2 separate regions of the Homo sapiens genome follow, and region 2 is linked to region 1. The links are contacts of gene promoters, found by promoter capture Hi-C in human tissues and cell types (Jung and others, 2019). All regions are on one chromosome and are shown on one strand. Each heading gives the region's core, a stretch centred on a gene start or on the middle of the fragment in contact. The rest is flanking DNA. Distances are from core to core; before and after follow the strand shown.

Region 1 (4,329 bases), core at 889-3,388:
ATATAAAAATTAGCCAGGCATGGTAGTATGGACCTGTGGTCCCAGCTACTTGGGAGGCTGAGGCTGGAGGATCCCTTGAGTTCTGGAGGTCGAGGCTGCAGTGAGCTATGATCGTGCCTCCACACTCCAGCCTGCGCAACAGAGAGAGACCCTATCCCCACTCCCACCCCTCAAGAAAATTTCCTAAAATTAATCCTGATAACTACTACTCAGAAACTCCCCCACTCCTCCTCAAACTGACCAATTTCCTCTAAGACTCTTCAAACTGTTTTCCTACTGACCCCTGGGGCCCCTACCCGTGGCTTCAGCACCTGTCCGCAACATTCCAGACTCCTAGGAGGCCCGGTCATCTCTGGCCTAGTCCTGATCTTGCCTGTGTCCCTGCAGATACCGTGGAGGGCTCAAATCCCACCATGCGCGGAGTCCTCCAGCGGATCCTGGCCCAGCAGGGCTGGCTAGGGCTGTACCGAGGCATGACCCCCACGCTACTGAAGGTCTTACCAGCAGGTGGCATCAGCTATGTGGTGTACGAAGCCATGAAGAAAACCCTGGGCATATAGGCTGTGAGCTGGACGACACAGCCTAGGCAGAAATGGGACAGGAGGACCTGATGACCCCTGGCCCCAAAGAGCCCTCGAGGCCTCAAGGTTCAGGCCCTGGGGCAGTTTTTGGTGGCAAAAGCAGGCTGGGGGTGGGGGTGGGGCTCTGGGTCAGAAGATTCCTGAAGCTGGGGTTGGTGGTGGGTGGAGGGGGGCAGTGCTGGGTCAGAAAACTCCTGGGACTCCCTCCCCAGGGTGCAGCCTGAGACAAGAAACGTGGACTCCAGTCTGGCCCCTTGTGGGTCGTCCTGGCTCCAGGGCGAAATGGTGAACATGTCACACAACAAGGAATAAAGAGATGGTTTTTGCTGAACGTGTCTGGATACTTGGGCCTAGGAGTGGAACTGGGTGCATGAGATCCCTGGACCCAGTAGGGGAGCTGGGGACCTTGGGCCTCTGGGTCCTGAATGGGAATTTGTGTCCAGGAGAGGAAGTGAGGACCTAGGATAGGAGCTTGAGGCTTGGATCCCAGGGCCTTAGGCGAAGGGAGTGAGGGGTGTGAAGTGAGGGGTGTGATCGAGGCTGTGATCCCTCGATCCCGGTTGTTGGAACGGTTCTGGACTCGTGAGTGGGGCTGGTTCCTTGAGTCCTGCAAGAGAACTGGACGCTCTAGATGGGGGGTCGAGAGAGAAGAAGGCCCGGGGGATCCCGAGTTTCCTGCTTTCCGGCCTCCCCACCTCCGGAAGCGCTCGATCTCTAAGGCTTCAAGCGGGCCACGTGCCGGGCCTACCCAACCAGGCTGCCGGTGAGCTAACCCAGACATCAGGCCTGAGTTCGGGCAGCCGATTGCCACCGCCCACGTCGGCTGCCATTCACTACAGTTCCCGCTAATCCCCTCGCTGTCTGGTGGCCGACTCCGCCCCAATGCAGCGGCGCTTCCACTGGCTCCCACCAAAAGTGGGCGCTTTGATTTCCTTCATTCCCATTTGTCCAGACCAGTGTCAGTCACCGAACACCCACCCATGTCGCTCAGCCATTGGCTTAGAAGTCAGGGATAGAAAAGGATTCTGGTTAACAAGGGAAGCAATTAAAGTCCAAAGCCAACCTCATCACCCAGAACTCGTCAGGAATTGGATTAATTGGCTGCCCATCTTTACAAGCACCACCTCTCACGTGCATTCATTGGCTTGTGTCCACGACTATCAAACCTAACGCCCACCCAGCCGGTCCATAGGAGTCTTCCACTAGGCCCGGCCTTACAGTCCACGTGACTCTTCAGAACCGTCAATCTAATTCTGAAGCCGCCCCGCGAATCTGGCACTCGCGTTTCATTGGGCCTCCTGCCTTCTCAGATCTCCTTCATTTGCCCGCCCAGCACGGGCAGCTCGCAGCTATTGCCTCTGAGAGCTGTCAGTCACTCTGAGCCTCCCGCCCACTGCCCCTCATTGCACTCCGATTGGCCACCTCCTACAGAGCTCGCGATTGGTGTCCGGGGTGCGGCGGCTGCCTCCCATTGGCCCGCCGGAGTCGTCCGTCACGTCGGCGGCGGGAGGGGCGACTCTCTCCCCCCTCGTCGTCCTCCCAGCGGCTGGGTTCCCAGAGTGCTCCGCGGCCGTGTGGAGCGAGGCCTTGTTCCCGCGTTGAGCCGCCGCCGCCGCCGCCGCCTCCTCAGCTTCAGCCTCCGCGCCAGGCCCGGCCCCGCCGCGCCATGTCGGACTACAGCACGGGAGGACCCCCGCCCGGGCCGCCGCCGCCCGCCGGCGGGGGCGGGGGAGCCGGAGGCGCCGGGGGAGGCCCTCCGCCGGGCCCGCCAGGCGCGGGGGACCGGGGCGGCGGCGGTCCCGGCGGCGGCGGCCCGGGCGGGGGGTCGGCCGGGGGCCCCTCTCAGCCACCCGGCGGAGGCGGCCCGGGAATCCGCAAGGACGCTTTCGCCGACGCCGTGCAGCGGGCCCGCCAGGTGAGGAGGCCGAGGGCCTGAGGGGCGCGCTCGCGCGCGCGCGCAGGCGGGGGAGGGGGCGGGGGTCACGTGCGCGCGCGCGCGCAGGGTCGCGGAGGGGGGCCGGGGCCGTCGCGGGGTCACGTGGGCGGTAGGCGGGGGCCTGGCCCTCCCGCTGCGCCTCGAGTGGGATCCCAACGGGTGACCCCCCTGCAGGGAGTAGGGGCGCACTGGGGGTCACCAGGAGCGGCGCCTGGGTGTGCAGGCGCCCCGGAGCTCGGAGACGCACTTTTGGGACCCCCCCCTTAGCCCCCCGGCCTTAGGACATGCCTGGAGGCAGGGGTCCACCTTCCCGGGCGGAGGGCCTTTACTCTCCCCTCCATATCAGGGCAAAGGGCAGTGTTTGCCCCCAACCCAGTCCCATTTCTGTCCCCTCTCTAGGAGAAAGGGACATTGTGGGGGTGGGAGGGACAGTCCTTCCTCTTCAGTCGGGAAAGTGGATGGGGACCTGTCTAGGGCTGAGCACTTGGGCGAAATGGGGAAGACGAGCATGGGGACTGGCTCTTGGATGCTTTGGTGGCTTGAAAGCGTGGTCTGTCTCTTTGGGGGAAAGAAGGGAGGGTCTCCCACCCCCGTGTATTGAGGCGTAATGACAAGGAAGTGTCACATGCTGCTAGGACTGACCTCTCCAGCTCCATTTGCAGCCTCCCCATGGCCTGGAGGGGTGGGGGTCGGTAGAATGGGAGGACTTTGCCGCCGACCGGCTCCTGGGCTGTCCCAATGCCTCCGGGGCTAGAGACTGGCTCCTCCCAAGGTGGGAGGTCCCGTTAAGTGAACGCCTGTGTTCTGGCCCTCTGTCGTCTCTCTCACCCTTGGAGTTGGGTGGGTTCTAGCGTGCATTTGGTCTTATTGCCCATGGAACCGTCTGATTCTGGGACAGCTTGAAGGGAGGAAGCTGGTGCTGTCAGTTGGTGGGGACAGGCCCCCTGTGGGCATCCCATGAGTTTTGGCTCTAGGGCAGCGTAGAAAAATGGAGACTGGTGGAAAGGGAGATTCTTAACATGGTTTGGGTTTCTAAACCCCAGACTCTGATCCTAAGTTTGCTGGGTTGAGGTTTCTTTAAAGTTGCTCTTCACGTGTCTGAGATGTAACTTGTGTCCCATAGAGTCTTGGTTTTTTGTTTGTTTGTTTGTTTTTTGGAAACAGTCTCAATATCACCCAGGCAGGGGTGCAGTGGCACGATCTCAGCACACCACAGCCTCCACCTCTCCAGTTGAAGTGCTCCTCCTGCCTCAGCCTCCCGAGTAGCTGGGATTATAAGTGTGCACCACCACACCCAGCTAATTTTTGTATTTTTAGTAGAGATGGAGTTTGACCATGTCAGCCAGTCTGTCTCGAACTCCTGAGTTCAAGTGATCTGCCCGCCTCGGCCTCCCAAAATGCTGGGATTACAGGCATAAGTCACAGTGCCCAGCCATCCAGAGAGTCTTCTGTTTTGGTCAAATGAGGATTTCATATCCCTTGAAGTGATCGCTTTGCTCAAATTTATTCAATAAATTGATAAAAGGATTTTGAGAGTGGGGGAGATAGGGGAAAATTGAACTCTTCAGCATCCCAGGAAAACGGGGCTAAAAAAAAACACACTTTCTGGTTTTCTGAGCTGGGGCCACTGGCAGGAGGAAGTGTCTGAAAGCTCTTGGAGATGACCTGGGAACCCTCCCTGACACCTGAGCCTCTGTTCCTTGTCACCCCTAGAACGAAGTCAGTGTGGATTATGGGCTGGCCACAATTAAGACACAAATCCCAGGAGAAGGGAAGAGGGGAATTTTGATATTCCCAGTTAACTGGTGAGAA
Region 2 (4,329 bases), core at 565-3,064, 460 kb before region 1:
TGAATAAAGTGTGTTTTTCTAAAAGAAAAAAAAAAGAAAAGAAGTCAGATTTGCTTCAGCCCCAAAAAGGGTGTTTATGTAAAATTAAGTAAGTGCTGACAGCCAGTTGCACTTTTTTTTTTTCTTAAGGGGAAAATAAGGGACACTGCCTGGAGAGGCTGAACTTAAGAGTCAGCATGAAAATACAGTAAATTCCACCAGGAAGGGGTACAAACAGAGCTGCATTGTGGTTTCCGGAAGCACTGGAGATGAACTCTGGAAACATATTGCCAGAGGTTCAAATCCCACCTCCACTGCTTGCCTCAAATATTCTCATCTGTAAAATGGGCGCATTAAGAATAGGATCTCACCCAGGAGCAGTGGCTCATGCCTGTAATCCCAACACTTTGGGAGGCGGGTGGATCACTTGAGGTCAGAAGTTCGAGACCAGCCTGGCCAACATGGTGAAATCCCGTCTCAACTAAAACTACAAAAAATTAGCTGGGCGTGGTGACACGTGCCTGTAATCCCAGCTACTTGGAAGTCCAAGGCAGGAGAATCACTTGAACCCGGGAGGTGGAGGTTGCAGTGAGCTGAGATTGTGCCACTGCACTCCAGCCTGGGTGACAGAGCAAGACTCTGTCTCAAAAAAAAAAGAGTAGGATCTGCCTCATGGACCTGGTGTGGGCATCAGAGGAGTGAGTATATATGGCATACCAAGAACAGAGCCTGGCACCCAACGTTCCAAGTGTTGGTTATTGCAGTGACAGGAACTGAACTCAGACAGCCATGGGTTCAAATCCTGACTCTGTAAGGTATTTCCAAAGTGACCACAGGAGGTGATTCACCTCTCTGAGCCTCAGTCTCTTATCAGGAGAATAGGGATAATGATCAGCCCTGTCCCACAGGATCCTTGAGCATGTAGGGATGCTGGAAACCGCTCAGCATATGCGGCAGGTGAGTGCCTGCCATGAGCTCCATAAACAGAAACACCAGCTCTAACTTGTTGGCTTCTGACTCTTGGTGTCTTTTGACTTCTCATTTCCCTTGGTTGAGATGGTTGGTATTGTTATCAGGCATGGATGATGTCCACACGCCCAACACCCCAGGGTTGCTGGGGAAAAGACAGGATTGTCCTCCCCATTGTAAGATACAGAAAGCCAGAGGTGAGGAAGCTATTACTTGGCCAGAGGAGGCCTGACCCAGGTTGGGGGTTGAGAGAATGGCCTCCCAAAGGAGCTAACGTCTAAGCTTAGCCCTGGAGAATGAGCAGGAGATAATCACACTTAGCAGAAAAGGTAATACAAAAGAAAAATAAAATAAAGCATGTGCAAAGCCTCATTAAGTTTGAAAGAAGCTGCTGTCTGAAGAGGGCACCTATCCAGACTTCCACAGCTCTAGGATTCCCTCTGCAATTTTTTCGTTTGTTTTTTGAGACCAAATCTTGCTCTGTTGCCAGGCTGGAGTGCAGTGGCGCGATCTCGGCTCACTGCAACCTCCGCCTCCTGGGTTCAAGCAATTCTCCCACCTCAGCCTCCCAAGTAGCTGGGACTAAAGGCACATGCCACCATGCCCAGCTAATTTTTGTATTTTTAGTAGAGAAGGGTTTCACCATGTTGGCCAGGATGGTCTCTATCTCTTGACCTTGTCATCCACCCACCTCAGCCTCCCAAAGTGCTAGGATTACAGGCATGAGCCACCAGGCCCGGCCCCCTCTGTAATTTTTAAATTTTTAAAAAATTTTTATTTCTTTTAGAGAGTCTCGCTCTGTTGCCCAGGCTGGAGTGCAGTGGTGCAATCACAGCTTACTGCAGCCTCCATCTCCTGGGCTTCAGCAGTCCTCCCACCTCAGCCTCCTGAGTAGCAGGACTACAGGCACCTGCTACCATGCCTGGCTAATTTTTTTTTTAACACTTTTTGGTAGAGATGGAGTCTGGTAATGTTGCCCAGGCTGGTCTCTGGTCCTGAACTCCTGGGCTCAATCAATCCTCCCACGATACCCTCCCAAAGTGCTGGGATTGCTGGTGTGAGCCACCGCACCCAGCTTCCTTCTACATTTTTCTGTTCCACGCTGTATCCAGAGTCCAGGATTATAGGAAAAAGTGCAAGCCTCTGGCAGTCCATTCCAGTAGATAACATTACCCGAAAGGGAATTCTGGGGGTAGAAGGAGAGCGAGGACTAATGTTACCAGAGGATGGGAGGTGAGCAGGGAGAGCTACATCTGTGGTCTCTGCAGAGCAGACACTTGTCCAGGGAAATCCTTTTCTTTACAATCTTTGTTAGCCAGGCATGGTGGTGCACACCTGTAGTCTCAGCTACTTGGGAGGCTGAAGCAGGAGAATCGCTTAAACCCGGGAGGAGGAGAAGGTTGCAGTGAGCTGAGATTGTACCACTGCACTCCAGCCTGGGTGACAGAGTGAGACCCTGTCTCAAAAAAAAAGAAAAAAAAAAGCCTGCAGGTGGATATTTGGGTGTCTGAGACCTATGAGAAACACCAGCTCTAATTCGTTGGCTTCTGAGCCTTGGTTTATTTTGACTTCTTATTTCCCCTAGTTAATATGTGAGGTCTATGTGCTCTCTTTTTTTCTTTTCCGTTTTTGGGCCAGGCACAGTGGCTCACACCTGTAATCCCAGCACTTTCAGAGGCCGAGGCGGGTGGATCACGAAGTCAGGGGTTTGAGATCAGCTTGGTCAACATGGTGAAACCCCGTCTCTACTAAAAATACAAAAATTAGCTGGGTGTGCTGGTGGGTGCCTGTAATCTCAGGTACATGGAGGCTGAGGCAGGAGAATTGCTTGAACCTGGGAGGCAGAGGTTGCAGTGAGCCTAGACTGCACCATTGCACTCCAGCCTGGGCGACAGAGCAAGACTCTGTCAAAAAAAAAAAAAAAATTCTTTTTTGAATTGACAAATTAAATTGTATATATTTATGGTGTACAACATGGTGTTCTGAGATACGTATATGTGGTGGAATGGCTAAATCGAGGCAATAAACCTATCTGTTCCTTTGCATGCACGTCATTTTTTTGTGGTAAGAATAGTTACATCTACCCTCTTAGCAATTTTCAAGGATATGCTACATTGTTCATTGTTATTAACTACAGTCACCATGTTGTACAATAGATCTCTCGAACATATTCCTCTTGTTCAACTGAAACTTTGTATTCTTTGAGCAATGTCTCTGCACCCACATCTTCTCCATATGCTCCTGATCATAGAATGCTGAATGTGGGGTCTCAGCGTCCTATGAGGTCTCATAGGACGAGTATCTCATAGGTCTCAGATACACAAATATCCACTGGGGGACTCACAAAGATTAGAAAGAAAAGGGTTTCCCTGGAAAAGTGTCTGCTCTGCAGAGACCACAGATGTAGCTCTCCCCTCCCACCTCCCATCCCCTGGTGATATTGGTCCTCGCTCTCCTCCTCCCCCCATAATTCCCTTTCAGGTAATGTTATCTACTAGAAGTGACTGCCAGAGGCTTGCACTTTCTCCTATAATCCTTGTTCAGTGTATCCAGGAGTGTGGACTCTAGAGGCAGGAAGACCAATGTGGTGGTTTTAACATATCCATCAGTTCTTTCATACTCTTCAGGTGGTAGAGACTAATCCCTCTCTCCTTGAACATAGACTTAGTGACTTGTTTCTCTCTCTCTCTCTCTCTCTCTTTTTTTTTTAAGACAGAATTTTGCTCTGTTGCCCAGGCTGGAGTACAGTGGCATGATCATAGCTCATTGCAGCCTCCAAGTCCTGGGCTCAAGTGATCCTCCTACATGAGCCTCCCAAGTAGCTGGGATGACAAGCATGTGCCACCACACCCAGCTGACTTTTTGTTTGTTTGCAGAGATAGGATCTTGCTATGTTGCCCAGGCTGGTCTTGAACTCTGGGCCCAAGTGGTCTTCCTGCCTCAGCCTCCCAAAGTGCTGGGATTACACGTATGAGACACTATGCCCAGTGTGACTTGTTTCTATTGATCAGAAAAAGGAGCACATGACAGTTTGTGACTAGGTCATACGTGCCATTGTGGCATCCTCGTTGCTCTCTCTTTCCAGGGTCATGCACTGGGGAGTAGCCAGTCGCCATGTTGTAAGGAGATTCAAGCAGTGCTGTGGAGGAACTGAGCCTCCCACCAACAGTCATGTGAGTGAGCTGCCTTGGAAGCAAATCTTCCCACCCCAGTCGAACTTTCAGATGAGCCAGCCCTGGTCAATGGCTTGACTATAACCTCAAGCAAGAGCTTGAGCCAGAATTATTCAGCTCAGCCACCCCCAGACTCCTGATCCTCAGAAACTGTAAGAGACTAAAAGTTCCCTATTTTAAGCTGCTAAGTTTTGGAGTAATTTGATAC

Evidence for each region. The method cuts DNA at HindIII sites, captures the fragments that hold promoters and counts their contacts. A contact is called where the count stands out against the background at its distance.
Region 2: a contact is called between a fragment that was not itself captured here and the fragment with the promoter of KHSRP in region 1, in 2 of the 25 tissues and cell types used here (IMR-90 fibroblasts and spleen).

Annotation. Positions count from the first base shown.
Region 1 is chr19:6,422,620-6,426,948 of GRCh38, reverse strand. KHSRP (KH-type splicing regulatory protein) reads left to right here and starts at 2,138. Exons shown (of 19, transcript NM_001366299.1): 1 at 2,138-2,496. The coding sequence starts at 2,248. SLC25A41 (solute carrier family 25 member 41) reads left to right here. Exons shown (of 7, transcript NM_173637.4): 7 at 388-912. The coding sequence ends at 560. RefSeq lists an enhancer at 1,711-1,830. The HindIII fragment of the contact is 26,210 bases long and covers 1-4,329 here.
Region 2 is chr19:6,879,212-6,883,540 of GRCh38, reverse strand. No RefSeq gene overlaps it. Among named protein-coding and RNA genes, the nearest start is that of ADGRE1, 6.2 kb to the left of the region's middle. The HindIII fragment of the contact is 4,197 bases long and covers 1-3,912 here.